Regions from separate parts of the Homo sapiens genome. Here all the other regions are linked to region 1. The links are contacts of gene promoters, found by promoter capture Hi-C in blood cells and fetal thymus (Javierre and others, 2016). All regions are on one chromosome and are shown on one strand. The core of a region is centred on a gene start or on the middle of the fragment in contact, and the rest is flanking DNA. Distances in the headings are between cores, read along the strand shown. Region 1 holds the start of SPTLC2 (serine palmitoyltransferase long chain base subunit 2). Region 2 overlaps CIPC (CLOCK interacting pacemaker). Region 3 has its middle 13 kb from the start of ZDHHC22. Region 4 overlaps POMT2 (protein O-mannosyltransferase 2). Region 5 overlaps TMED8 (transmembrane p24 trafficking protein family member 8).

Region 1 (2,848 bases), core at 244-2,743:
CCATGAAGCACAGCCACATGTTTCCTTTTTAGCCTTATACATACAGATGTATATTCACTTTGGGATCAATAGTGTTTGTCAACTCAAATAGGATGTGTGGGATGAATGATCCCACCTTCTGTTAGATTATTCAGCTCCTAAGTCATGCAAAACCAATACCTTGTGGACCTCCTTTCTAAAGCTCCTGCAGGGTGGGGAAAGAATGCACGGATTCTCATAGGTGCATTTAGCAATTACTAGTAACCAACACTTAATGAATGCTTACTAATTGCTAGGTCCTGTACAAAATACATTACATACATAAACTTATTCAATCTTCACGACAACTATTATTGTCCCCACTGAACAGATGAAGACACATAGAGGTCACTCAGCTAGTAAGTGGCGCAGCTAGGATTTAAAACCCAGACCGACTCCAGAGTCCATACTCTCAATTATGATACTAAATTCTTTATGGATAACAGAAAGTCTCTAATTGTAATGTAGATCAATTTCCTTGCTTTCTAACCCCATGGGAAGATGGAACTAAAAGGGTGAGAAAATAATATTTATTATACTCCTACTATAAGCCTAGTATTATAAGAGGTGCATAATGGGTTAATGATATAATTCTTGCTGTAAGTCTATGAAGCAGGAAGTATTAACTCCATTTTAAAGAATTTGGCTTCTAAAGTGGTTAAACACAGTGCTCAAGTTTTAGCTTCCAGTTATTGGCAGAGTTGGAATTAGACCAGGTTTTCTAACTTTGAAGGAAAGACTTAATTTAAAGGAGACTGTATAGAAAACCCTGCCAAGGGCAAATGTGAAGGGCACGTGAAAAGGCATCTGAATTATTACTTATAATAATTCAGAAATAGTGAATGTGTGGCGCATATTGAAGAATGATGAGAGATTGTCAAAAAATCTATTCTATAAACACTCACAGAGGAATCAGCTAATTAAATAAGCGAGCTGCCTGTCTTGGGCTAGGACATAAACTCCAAAACTTCCCACGAGGCAAGGGCAAAGAGGGCGCCACCTGTCCTGGAGAACCTGGGAACCCGCTCTAGAGACTTCGGCTCAGCCCCTTTTATTTCCTCACACTCTAATTGGCTACTTTTCCCTGGGCTCCGCCTCCTCCTCGGTCTGGACCATTAAACAGGCAAGCCCTACCCCGGACCTGGATGCGGCCTCCAATCAGGTGCCAGGCCCTGGAGTCCCTCTAGAGAAGCCCCCTCTCCACCGGCGAGGCGCTTTGCTCTCGTCCGTGATTGGCCAGGCAGCAGCATGGGGTCCGCCTCCTTCTCTTCCAGATTGGTCAGCGGTCCTCAGGACCACATCCCTCTCGGCAGGTCCCCGCCGCTTTTTCCCTTCGCTGCGTGGCCTTGGCCGAGACCGGTCCTCTGCGGAGAGGGCCCCGCCCTCTGTGAAGGCCCGCCCGGGAATTGGCGGCGGCGCTGCAGCCATTTCCGGTTTCGGGGAGGTGGGTGGGGTGCGGAGCGGGACTTGGAGCAGCCGCCGCCGCTGCCACCGCCTACAGAGCCTGCCTTGCGCCTGGTGCTGCCAGGAAGATGCGGCCGGAGCCCGGAGGCTGCTGCTGCCGCCGCACGGTGCGGGCGAATGGCTGCGTGGCGAACGGGGAAGTACGGAACGGGTACGTGAGGAGCAGCGCTGCAGCCGCAGCCGCAGCCGCCGCCGGCCAGGTACGAGGGGCCCGCGCGGCGGGGCCGGGGTGGCGGTGTGGACTGGCGGAGGGGCGGCCGGGCGGGGCGAGGTCTCCGGGCCATCCGCTGGGCAATCCGCGGGGCGGGCGCCGTTCGCAGGTGTGGGCGGCAGTGTCCGGCCGCTGGCCCGACCTCCACGAGCCTGGAGGCTCAAGGACGGCTCGGGGGCTCCCCACCTCTCCGCGCCTGGAGGTCTTACTCCCGGAGCTCTGGGTTCTGCTCAGAGCTCCGGGTACTTTTCTCTGCCCCATTCTGCCAGAAGTGTGTGCTGTCCCCAGGGGAAGCGATGAGGGGCCCTTCGGACTCCAGTGGGAGCCGCCCAAGGGCTCCGGAGGGTCCCTTCTCAAACCCCTGAGGTTATTGCTTCCTTTTAAAGTCCTGCAGTCGTCCAAAGAAAACCACCCATGGGGTCCTTAAGAAGCAAAGAAAATTAGGCGGTGGTGTCAGATGGAAACACACCCAGCCTCTCCCAACCACATTCTGGACTACCACGTTCAGTCCCCAACCAGGACATTGGTCCATAGATCTGGCAGGGAATCCAAGCTGGTCCCTCGAAAGCATCATTCTCTTAACTCTGCCGGTGGTGAGACTCTACCCCAGGCTCCAGGTTGGATTAGGTGGCCCCTTCGACCCTTTCCTGAACACGAGTGCTATCACACAAGGGGATTGTTTAGCCTGGTGGTGACTTGCGATGACTCTATACTAATTAACCATGCTGAATCATCAACCAAGTTCAGGCAGTTCTAAAATATTTTGAAAAGTTCTAAATTCAAGACAATGCTTATTATCAACCTTACAGTGGTCTGGACTGACAGATATTCTGTTGAAATGTGTTTTTAAAGATGAGCTGGTTAAAAAGATGCAAGATCGGTGTTCCTGGAAGAGAGTGTTGCGATAATTTTGCAGTTGACTTTAATACGTTTAAGTCTTGTACAGATATTAAGGAACGCTTAGAAAGTACTCTGTTTCCCTTTAGCGGGAGTGTGACTGTTGCAGTTTGATAGGATGGTGATCTTAATTTGGCTTTAACATAACTACTCCCCAGATGAGTAGTTATGATGGATAGGTCTGTTACTGTTTGCTGCGAAGCAGAAAATAAAGCATTTTTCCAGGTCATGTTGAGATATTGAGACTGAGTTGAGGGG
Region 2 (2,848 bases), core at 97-2,596, 510 kb after region 1:
TCAAGTGTTTGCAATTTACTTTCAAATAATTCAGAGAGAGAGTGTGTGTGTGTGTGTGTGTGTGTGTGTGTGTAAAGAGAGCGAGAGAGAGAAAGCATATATGGCAAAAAGATAGACATATGGGGTATTCATTTGCTTTTGTATAGATTTGAAATTTTTTGAACTACAAATGTGGTAATTAAAATGGGAAAAATTGTCTTGATTTTGCAAATTTCATCCTACTCCAAGGTAACTGGAATAACTCAGGCAGTGAGGAAATCACTGGCACCTGGCCCAAGAGTGGCTCGAAGCATTCCAGTGGCATTCACTGGGGCTACTTTCTGGGGCATAATGAGTTTGATTATTTTAATACCACCTTATATCTGAGTAGTACAATATTCTTAAAACAACTGGCCTGACAAAGTTGAAGTTGTTAGAAGTGTCAAAATGTCAACAGTACTGGAAATAATAGATGGTAAGATTATGGATAATGTTTTTCTTCTTCATGCTTTCCTACCTGTCCAAGCTTTTACAATGAGCACGTATTCATGAAATGAAACATAAACAAAAAGCAAACGTGATATTAAAAGAAAAAAAGAGGCACTAGGCCTCCAGTGTTTCCCAAACCTGTCTGATCATACAACAGAAACACTTGTTTTTTAAAAGAACCCACATTCCAGGCCCTGTCCAGACCCTTGAAAGAGTCTCCAGGAGGGAGATCTGGTGATCAATATTTTTAACAAATGCCTCAGGTGAGCCTTATGATGAGGCAGGCTTAGGAAACAATGCTGAGAGAGAGAAGAAAAATCCAAAGGGAAGGTTGGCCCGCCCTTCCCTGGACTGTCCTGGCCCTGGGCAGGGCAACTAATTCCTTTTAATCTAATCCCTTGGTTGGCGCTCTGTTCCTCTTTGAGCAACGGTCTATTTATAATTTGCCTTTTCAAGCAGCATGCCTACAGGGAGAAAATATGCCAATCTAAAGACAAGAGAGTTCTAGTTTTCCTAACAGCTGCATTTCTCACTATAAGTTAATAAATCAAAATTGATTGATTTGTCTTTGTGAGTCTGGATAATATAAATCTTCTCCTTGAGAGGGTTCTACTCTCAGGATGTTGACTTGACCAGAATCCCTCAGCATCACCCCTCTGCATCCCCGCGCCAAAAATCACACTAGCGCCATATTCAAGCCACTACCCTCAGAGCGGGAAATAAAAAAAGAGCCCCAGCACAAAATTGAATGATTCAATATATATGCAGCTAGCCCTTTTGGGTAAGGTTTAAGAAAAACTTGTAAGGAAAACTGTTCTATTTTCTTATCTCTAATAGATACTCAAGTTTAGAGCTAGGCCAGGTGGCTCACAGTCCAAATACAAAATGCATAGAGACTGGGGGGAGGGGTTGTTGGAGGCGTACATTTCTAAACACAGCGAAACTACTTTCTCAATGAAAAAGTTACCTTACAAATTATATACAGTATTACTTTTATTTAACTGGCAGTCTTCCAATTTGTTACATGGAAACTACATGCAGTAGCAATTTTTCCCCTACAATGTAATAATTCCTGTGAAAAAGGAAGTAAAACAACAGAATTATGAGTATTTAAATATTTTTTCCAGTGACCAATTGCAATAGTTGGAAGTGTAAGATTCAGAGTCTAAGTTGAAAAAAGATGTTAAATAATTCTTTCAGAACTAACCCTGTGGTGACTTTGATGGGTACCCTGACATATGGCATCAGAATTACCATTTTAAAGCAGGTAAGTATTTATCCTGTGTGTGAAAGCATCCCATCCTTATCACATAAATGAGTTTTGGGGAGGAAATTTTTCACGCAAAGCATTCACTCACAAAACAGAGGAAGGATAAGATATTTTTAACCTGAAAAGCCAGAGTCCTTGTCTGACTCAGCAGCAGCCATCCCAAGCTGACGAGCCACTTTCTTCATCTCTGTGCCTTTGCCTACTTTGGCAGAGAGTCTTCTGGGGCTCTCTCTGGATGGGTTTTTCCTCTCCATGGTTTATTCAGCTGGAGGCAGATTCATTGGTACTCTTTTCATCTGGACTGCCCTATGAAAAACAATTATATAAGAAGTCACTGCCTGGAGAGCTGAAACAGGTGATCCAAACAGTGAATAAAGTATGGGCAAAGAACACTGGCCTCACCCACTTCAGCTTTATTTTCTCAGAGGTTTCAACTGACAAAAGCTTCAAGTTTACTAAACAGAATGGTTTCCACCCATAAGGAGATTCACAGTCCTCTGGCTGCCCTCTAATTCCATTACAAATTCAAGGCACACAAACCACATTCAGCATTCGCTTTGTAAACTGCTAACAAAGGCACATTTGATTAGGCTTTTTCCAATGGGTAACGAAATGAACTCACCAGAGGGGAGAGGGGACAGGGGAGTGAAGAGAAGGGAAAAGGAAGACAGGAGAAGAGAGAGGGCAGAAGGAGGGGGAGAGGGGAAAGGGGAGAGGAGAAAAGAGACACCGCAAGGCTTGCTTTCCTCGTGTACATTTGCAGGCTCATGACCTATTGCCACCTCCCACAGTGTTGTGTTTCTCAAATTAACCTCTAAATCCTTTGGCTGAGGTATTGAACAGAGAGCAAAAACAACTCCCTATACATGCATGCTACTTTTAGGCTTAAAAAACACTTTTATGGGCAAATAAAATCATATATAATAAAGAGCTTATAATATGCGTTGCTATTAGTGTTATCTCACTTGAGCCTCACAATGTCATCTTCAGTTGCTATCTCACTTTACAGGGGAGGAAACTGAGGCTCAGATAAGTTACATTCAATCATTTAAAAATATTTATCAAATGCCATTGTAAATCAGGCATTGTGCAAGGACTGGGGATATAGAA
Region 3 (2,848 bases), core at 211-2,710, 490 kb after region 1:
GAGTGCTCAGAGGAGGGAGAGAGCACATTCTGCTGCTAGGTCTGGGGCCTTTCCATGATACGGGGCCTGGAAAGATGGATGAGATTTCAGCAGGCAAAGAGGGACAGGGAGGGCTTTCCAGGGACAGAGAACAGGCCTGGGCCTTGGGGTATAAGGGATATCACAAAGAGGCAGAGGAGGTTAAGGCTGAGAGTAGGGACCCAAGCAGAGAGGGCTCTGAATGCCAAGCTAAGGGACCTGGAGGGCATTTGACAGGCAATAGGGAACCACTGAAAGTTCTGAGCAAGAGAGCAGCATGATCAGAGGTAGATTTCAGAAAGCGCAGCCTTGGAGGATAGACTGGAAGTGGGAGAAACTGGAGGTTGAGGGACCTGGTAAGAGGCATGTACTATATCTCAGTGAGATGTAACCGGGATCCGGGTGGGGATAGTGGTTGTGGGATGGTAAAGAGGGGAAAGATATCAGAGGCACTTCACAGACATGGAGCATGAGTAGAGGAATGCTAGGGAGGGGGCCCAAGATGGCCCTGAAGGTGAAAACGGGGTGATTGTTAGGAGGATTGGGGTGGAAAAGATTGTGACACTAGGGTTCAGGGCCATCTCATGCACTAGCCTCTGTCGTTGGCCCGTCAGATGGCAGTTGATGGTGTCATTCTTAACTAACCACTCTGCGTCCATGGAGGAAGGGGTTCAGGGACATCTGCCAGTCATTCTTTACAGCACAGCTCTCTGACTCCCACAGCAGGGGTAGAATCATCTGTCAGTGCCAATAGAGATCATGGGTCCTCAGGCCCATGTGCTGGAGTGAGATGCTTTCCATCCAGAAAGTGGGTACACTCTGCTTTGACCCATGCCCTAGTGTCAGATTAGGCAAGGCAGGAACTGCCTCACTCTAAGCTCCAGGAACCCAAGGAGTTTTGGAAAGACAACAAACTTGAGGAGACTTCAACCCAGGTCCCCCTCCACTGTAACAAGTCAGTCCTTAGGTCCCAGGGACCATCTGTTAGCCAGTCTTTCTCCTTAGGAAGATGACTGTCCTTGTTACTGTCCATGCATTTGGTCCTCCAAATACTGTGGCTTTTGTCTGTACCCAGTGTCCTCCAACTGGCCTCATTGCTCATGAGATTCCCCCTCATCTCCCTCCTGCCCTGCCTCTCAGCATGCCCTCGGGGATGCTTGGGAAGCAGCCCCTCCTGCCAGGAAGAAAAGGAAGGATGGGCAGGGAGAGAGGAGGCATTTCTCCTAACTTATCTGAGACACGTTAAAGATGAGGCAGAACCTTGGGCCTGCTCACCAGCCACAGTGAGCCTGCTGGTGGGGGCGGGAGGTGTCTGGGAGTAGCTCAGTTGCTCCTGGTGTTGGCCTCTGCTTCTGCTCTCATTCCCCTCTCTATTCATGGTACTGGCCCAGCTCCTCCACTCATTCTTCAAAAACATTCATCGATGCTGACTCTATGCCAGGCATGATGCCAAGAACCAGGAATGCAAAGATGAAAGAGACCCAGTACCTGATCTCAGGGAGCTCACTAGGAAGAGAACAAATTGCAGATGGTTGTGATTCAGTGGCATGAAAGTGCCGATGGGAGGACAGGGTGCTACAGAAGCCTGGCGGAGAGCACTTACTTTACCAGGGCGGACCTGAAGGCTTCCCAGAAAAGGCAACATCTGGGTCATGCAGGATGAATAGGAGGGGGCCAGGCAGAAAAGCAGGGCTGTGGGTGGGAGTGGAGGTAGGAGGGACTATACAGAGGCAGAGATACCAGGTGGTTTCTGGGAATTGCAAGTCTGCATTTAGGAATGGTGGGATGTGAGCACATACCTGCAGCCACAACTGCAGGTTTGTCCTCAGGCCACGCTCCCCATGGACCCTGCCTCCTTCCTCTGATCACTTCTTAGAAAACCCTAACTCACACCAGCTCATGGTGTCCGTTTGGATGAGTCAAGCATGAACTGATGTCTAGTTTTTCTAAAGGATCCGCAAGTCTCCAGGTTGGCGATCAAAGGTAGAAGGTTAAGTTCATTTTCCAGAGAATCAGCCCAAAGATGCTAGAGCTCACCTGGGAACATCAGAGATTCCTAGTCTTCTCTGGGCCCAAAGAGGGGTCTCTGGGAGCTCCCCATCACTCTTGCCTTCCTGCACAGCCTCAGCAAATGGCATTGGAAGGACACCATTCCTAGCAAGATGGCTTCCAGGACTTACAATAGAACTGGAAAGGCTGGAACCCTGAGATGTAAGCAGTGACCTTTTGTTATGTACAGTGCCCCATCTGGACTGGCAAGGCAGCTCTCTGCGTGGACCTCTGCACCCTGGTGGGCACCTCCCCACATCCTGTAACCTGGTGGCCCCAGCATGCCTCCTCCTTTAGCCTAGGCCCCTCCCAGCCCCTCCTCCACATCGCACTTCTCCATAGGACCTTTCTTCAATTGGTCCAGCCCCCTGGAAACCTTCTATTTCAAACTCCCACTACTGTTGGCAGCTCTCTGTCACTCTTACTCTCTCCTGTAGGTTTTGTCTCCTAACTACTGCATGCCCTTGGAAAGCAGAAATGGAGATGGTGGAATCCTTTAGTTTCCCCCTGTCCCTAGCATGGTGTAGGACACTAACATTGTTGATACAGTCATTCTACTGCTGGTAACAATGACCAAGATTTGCTGAGCCTTCCCTACATGCCAGGTGCTTGTCCTGTACACACTTTATCTGTATTAACTCATGTATTCCTCATAGCAATCCTACAAGGTATGTTTTATTATAACCCTGACGTTCCAGGTAAAAAAATAAATAAATAAAGGCACAGAGAGGTTGTGTAATTTGCCCAAAGCCTGAAGCTAGTATGTGGCAGAGCCAGGATT
Region 4 (2,848 bases), core at 241-2,740, 320 kb after region 1:
AGCCTCCCGAGTAGCTGGGACTACAGGCACCCGCCACCACGCCTGGCTAATTTTTCGTATTTTTAGTAGAGACAGGGTTTCACCGTGTTAGCCAGGATAGTCTCGATCTCCTGACCTCATGATCCACCTGCCTCGGCCTCCCAAAGTGCTGGGATTACAGGCATGAGCCACCGCGCCCAGCCTGTATCCTCCTCTTTAAGTTGGGGAAAATGAGTAGTACCTCTCTCCATCAAAGGGCAGTTGTGAGGATTAAATGAGATAACAATGTGAAGTGCTTATGAAAGATTAGCCATGTGAGTATCATCTGAATGAGTGAACGATGCTGTGTCCATGTTAAGGAGTGTTTGTGTGGCTGCAGTGGATGGTGCCTGAGAGGGAGAAGCAGGATGCTGAAGAGGTTGGTGGGGCCATATTGGGGAGAGGCCTGTGTTATAGTAGATTTGACTTTGCTCCATAGACATTAGGGAGGCAATCAAAATTATTATGATTATGATTAGATCTCTAGTTTAGAAAGGTAACTTTAGTGGAAATGTGATAGCTCACAAGGAACCAGTTTGGAGGCAATAATTATGACAAAGGACAGTGAACAGAGGCAAAAAGCATGGAATCTTTACTTTGCAAAGATTTGTTCTTTGCAAAAAGTTGTCTCTCTCCAAATGCTTTATTTTTATTTCCCTTTTAGTTGCTAGAAAGTGACTCAGTATGTATTAGTGCAATTTCATGCTGCTGATAAAGACATACCTGAGACTGGGCAATTTACAAAAGAAAGAGATTTAATTGGACTTAAAGTTCCACATGGCTGGGGAGGCCTCACAACCCCGGTGGAAGGCAAGGAGGAGCAAGTCACATTTTATGTGGATGGCGGCAGGCAAAGAGAGAGCTTGTGCAGAGAAAATCCCATTTTAAAAATGGTTTTAAAAACCATCAGATCTCTGGCCAGGTGCGGTGGCTTATGCCGAGGTGGGCGGATCACTTTAGGTCAGGAGTTTGAGACCAGCCTGGCCAACATGGTGAAACCCCATCTCTACTAAAAATACAAAAAAATTACTCGGGCTTGATGGCACGTGCCAGTAATCCCAGCCACTCAGGAGACTGAGGCAGGAGAATCACTTGAACCGGGGAGGTGGAGGTTGCAGTGAACTGAGATTGCGCCACTGTACTCCAGCCCAGGCAAAAGAGTGAGACTCCATCTCAAAAAATAAAAAAATAAAACCATCAGATCTTGTGAGACCCATTCACTCGTGACTCAATCATCTCCCACCGGGTCCCTCCCACAACACGTGGGAATTAGAGGAGCCACAAGATGAGAATTGGGTGGGGACATAAAGCCAAACCATATTACAGGGTATTGGATTTTAGTATCAGTTTCTTATCCTTAATTCTCCATTCATGTCTGGCCCAGTGGTTTTCAGCCCTGGCTGCACTTAGAATCAACGGAGAGATTTTTAAAAATTCTGATGCCTGGACTCCACTGCAGAGATTATGATTTAATTGATCTAGGATGAGGCCCATGCATTATGCATTTTTGGTTTGGTTTTAAGCTGTCCAAATTATTCTAAGTCATGTACACCCAGGGCAGAGAAAACTAGATGTTCTGTGTTCTCATGTGTTGATAAATTGCTGCAGGTGTCATGTAGAAGACACTACAGTTACAGACCTGGTGACCAGAACATCTACACTGTGCAAAGGGAGAGAAAGGCCAAACTCTGAAAGGCTCTGTTAAGCTAGTGTTATGTACGTAGAGCCCATGTGTGGAGGTGTGAAACGTGATGGTGGTATAGGGAAAGTGCATTGCGCCAAGGGACGAAAGTGTCTGGCTTTGTCATTGACCAGATCTTTTAGCCTTTCATCCTGTTTCCTCATCTGTAAATTGAGGGGATTGGACTAAATAATCTCCAGTGGCCCTTCCTGCCATGCAGTTTAATGTCTTGTTAACATGTCTAGGTCTCTATTTTAGAATGTTTTTAAAGCATAGCATTTATAAAATTGGAAAATGTAGAAAAGTATAAAAAAGAAAACAAAAGCTACATGTAATCCCAGAAGATTAAGTGTTTATCTGAATGTTTTAATGTACAACATTCTGCTATAATTGGATACTTGTGTTCTTAGGAAATCTCATGGTATAAAAATCTCCATTGTCAAAACAAACATTTCAGTGGGAAAAGGGGCCATGGACTGTACTCATGATAAATAAATAATTTTTCTTGTAGGAATTTTAATCATAATTGCTCTTGTAAAACAGACACACAAAGACTGCTCTCCTACCACACATCTACACAGAGTACACACACGAGCATCATAGAACCTTAACTTCCTTGAGCAAATCCAGGCTGGATGGACGATATCGAGCTTTTTCTCAGGAATGTAGACTTCATTTTAATTTCTTTATGAGCACCAAAACTTTTTAGCTTCTTGTATATTCTTAATAACATTATCCCTAATTTTTTTTTCCTGAGGAACAAAGCAAATACCACTCAAAAGAAGCAGCCATAATGCAAGCAAAATAATTTTTCCCCTAAATGCTAATTCTAAATCTCTTTGTAAGTACAGTCATGCATCGGGGGGATACCTTCTGAGAAACAGGTCATTAGGTGATTTGATCGTTGGGTGAACATCATAGTATGTACTTACACAAACCTAGGTGGTCCAGCCTACCACACACCTAAGCTACATGGTATAGCTGATTGCTCCTAGACTACAAACCTGTATAGCATGTTACTGTACTGAATACTGCAGGCAGTTGGAACACAGTGGAACACAATGGTAAGTATTTGTATTAACTTAAACATATCTAAACATGGAAATGGTATAGTAAAAATATGGTATTATAATCTTATGGGGCAACCAT
Region 5 (2,848 bases), core at 103-2,602, 280 kb after region 1:
AAACTCAGACTTTTAAAAAAGTGTATATTGTCCCATTATAATATGTATATGGAAGAGTGAAATCTGAACGCTGTCTTATATTAAGCAGTAGAATTAGGTATTATCATAAAAAGTCTTAATCTGTAGGGAATATGAGTTTATGTTTATGAGTCCTGCTCAGTCCCTCTTTGAGAGAATTAGTTGAAACCCAGACTCTAAAGTCTGCTTTTATATTTGTTTGTTAAGACCACTTATCTGCAGAAGGTTGCCTTTTAACCCCAGTGGTTCTAAGGTGTGGAATTGAGTGACCCTAATATTTACATAAGAGACTTGTTTTAGTGGAGCATAAGGGAGGGGCATAAGTTACACCGTTTTGTGCTGCTTGAGAACTGTCTTTTAAAATTGATCACAACGAGGGAAAACAAAATAAAATTAGGGGGCAAAGGGTAGGAGTATGGGGGGAGGGGAGAGCAAACCTATCGAATATATCTTAGAATTTTGCTCAGAAATCACTGCTGCCTCTCAAGTGTTGCATTGTCCCTGCCTAAACCAAGAAGGCTAAACAAAGCCCCTCCTGTTTGAATTCTTAAGGTAAGAAATTTCTAAGCTAAGAAAACACTATTGCCTAAAACCAATGATAGTGGAGCTCATTTACAAATAGGCATGCCTCACACACACAGTCCAAAGGCAAGACACTGGCTTTGAAATTAGGCTCATGATGTGATTCCTATTATATGTACCTGATTTTTTTAGGCCCCAGGTATGTGGACCAGAGTTAATGTCATGACTCTTCAAAGATATGATGAAAAGTTGCCCTAGAAATCTAGAGATGCATGTTTATTTAATTCCATAGTTTAAAAAAAAATTTAAGCAGGTAGTTGTGGCTTATCTGGGGGCAAAATAATATATGTGAAATTGCTTCCAGAGGACAAAGTATATTTTCTAAAGTCCTGAAATAGGATCATGAACCCTTCTGAAGTTTTGGTTTGAAATATTATAGTATATGATATTACCAAAGAGCCCTTAATTCAGAGTTTAAGGGGCTCTCTTCCTGAACTCTCTTCATCACTCAGGGTTGAATGTGTAATGTTCCTTGCTATTGATTGTTATTGTTGATTCTTAGGATCAGGCCAAGAATCATCTGGAAAACATTATCTTAATTCCGTCTCTCATATCCTAAACAGTACATTTTACTAAGAAATTCCATATGAAAAACTCCACTCATGTCTCCTGAGATTATCCTGTAAGTGAAGTAGCTTTCATTTAACCAAGCTAAATTATTTCCATTTAGCCATGTTAAAGAGAAGCCAAGTCTAGAGAAAGCAATCCTGTAACCCATGAATCTGGTGTACCCATTTTCCCTTAACGTAACGGGAAGTGTTTTGAAATTCCCAGAAGAGAGCTGTTTTGTAATCAAAGTGATGGATTATAAGAAAGCCAGACTTTGGAAAAGGATAATTGGAATAAAGGGAGGTGCTTGAAGATTTTCCAAACTACTTTATGTCATTTAGCTTCTATTTTCTGAAGGGCTTTCTTTGGTGCCATGTACTCAGATCAGTCAGTTGACTGAAAGATGATCATGTTTTCTTCGTAAAGATTTAAGCAATTGGCAACTACAAAGACATTATTTTCTTACTGTTCTATATCATGTACTGTTGCTGACATTACAAAAAGGGTCTGGAAGGGAAACCGTGTCACTGTTTTATCTTTTTTCTTTAAAATACAAAAGTATCCCAACTAATCATTTATTATGGTCAGCTTGTTTTACATGTCCCCTATCATGAGAAATGCTATCAACATCTGTGATTTCTAAGAGTCTTACCAAATTGTTACTTTAATTCTTGTGTCCTGCTGAGTGGTTTTTCTTTTAAAATACCATTTTTATCACCCTGTGGCACTGGGTGTGTTACTGCGATTACACTGATGATTCTGAGCTGTGCTTCTTCAAGTAGCTCAGTTCTTGCGTTTTATATTAGGTAACAGTTTTGTGATGCTTTTGTGCATTCTTTGTCATCTCTTCTGAGTTTTCGAATCTGTCATAAATAAACTTTTTCACTATGCACCTGGTAACATCTGAGTTATATTTTAATGAACCTGATTTACATTTTAAATTCTTTGTCTTTCATGTATCTTCCTTAAGAAAGGTATTCTATAAGCCCATATGAATTATTTCATAATCTATTAAGATTGTGAAAGTTAAGAAGAACTAAAAAGAAAAAAAATTGAGAATAAGATTAATAATAGATCTTTCATCTGCATTTAAATTCATGGCAGAGTATCATGACCTGGGAACTGGGAATGGAAAAACTGGGTTTATAGTGATGATTAATAAGTTCTGAGTTTTATGTCAGCATTTGGTCCCAGTGAGGCCTGTTTCCCCATGAAGATATTCTGTTCAAATTTGGAACCTCGACTTCGGATACCAGGCCAATCATTAACGTAATCTGGGTGATATGAATTCAGCCTATTTTCATTTACAAAAAGTGACACCATAATATATCTTTGCTGTCTTTTAAAACACTGCCTCTCCACATCCCTAGTGTCTGTTGCAGAATAAGGACTCACATCTGAGCAGGGAAGGGTGGCATTTAAATATTTCCTTCAGTGATATCTGTGATGCTAAAATGAACCTGTTAGATCATTCTCTGCTTTCTGTTGCAACATATTTTAGAGGTTGAAGCATGAAAGAGAAGGGATCTGAAACAATTCAGTTGAATGTAATCACCAAACTACCCTACAAGTAACAAAAAGCCCAGGCAGATTCCATGTAGCTGGAGATCATTAATGATTCATGTTTGGGTATGCTGGATGTAATATGTCACTGTGAACACATAATATATTTAAGATTATTATTATTTTTTGAGATGGA

The links. The method cuts DNA at HindIII sites, captures the fragments that hold promoters and counts their contacts. A CHiCAGO score of 5 or more calls a contact.
Region 2: a contact is called between a fragment that was not itself captured here and the fragment with the promoter of SPTLC2 in region 1, in 4 of 17 cell types (total CD8 T cells, total B cells, non-activated CD4 T cells and 1 more). The highest score is 7.1, in total CD8 T cells.
Region 3: a fragment that was not itself captured here is called in contact with the fragment with the promoter of SPTLC2 in region 1 in 4 of 17 cell types (total CD8 T cells, total B cells, naive B cells and 1 more); the score reaches 7.5 in total CD8 T cells.
Region 4: a fragment that was not itself captured here is called in contact with the fragment with the promoter of SPTLC2 in region 1 in 1 of 17 cell types (naive B cells); the score reaches 5.2 in naive B cells.
Region 5: a fragment that was not itself captured here is called in contact with the fragment with the promoter of SPTLC2 in region 1 in 1 of 17 cell types (naive B cells); the score reaches 5.3 in naive B cells.

The regions. Positions count from the first base shown.
Region 1 is chr14:77,615,282-77,618,129 of GRCh38, reverse strand. SPTLC2 (serine palmitoyltransferase long chain base subunit 2) reads left to right here and starts at 1,493. Exons shown (of 12, transcript NM_004863.4): 1 at 1,493-1,682. The coding sequence starts at 1,551. RefSeq lists silencers at 1,067-1,126, 1,457-1,506, 1,647-1,846 and enhancers at 1,166-1,698, 2,027-2,236. The HindIII fragment of the contact is 6,254 bases long and covers 1-2,848 here.
Region 2 is chr14:77,104,853-77,107,700 of GRCh38, reverse strand. CIPC (CLOCK interacting pacemaker) reads right to left here. Exons shown (of 4, transcript NM_033426.3): 2 at 1,857-2,044. The coding sequence starts at 1,992. Among named protein-coding and RNA genes, the nearest start is that of CIPC, 8.0 kb to the right of the region's middle. The HindIII fragment of the contact is 1,677 bases long and covers 508-2,184 here.
Region 3 is chr14:77,127,270-77,130,117 of GRCh38, reverse strand. No RefSeq gene overlaps it. Among named protein-coding and RNA genes, the nearest start is that of ZDHHC22, 13 kb to the left of the region's middle. The HindIII fragment of the contact is 5,677 bases long and covers 1-2,848 here.
Region 4 is chr14:77,292,685-77,295,532 of GRCh38, reverse strand. All of the region lies in intron 9 of POMT2 (protein O-mannosyltransferase 2), which reads left to right. Among named protein-coding and RNA genes, the nearest start is that of NGB, 23 kb to the right of the region's middle. The HindIII fragment of the contact is 4,904 bases long and covers 1-2,848 here.
Region 5 is chr14:77,334,222-77,337,069 of GRCh38, reverse strand. TMED8 (transmembrane p24 trafficking protein family member 8) reads left to right here. Exons shown (of 6, transcript NM_213601.3): 6 at 1-2,041. Among named protein-coding and RNA genes, the nearest start is that of GSTZ1, 15 kb to the right of the region's middle. The HindIII fragment of the contact is 9,857 bases long and covers 1-2,848 here.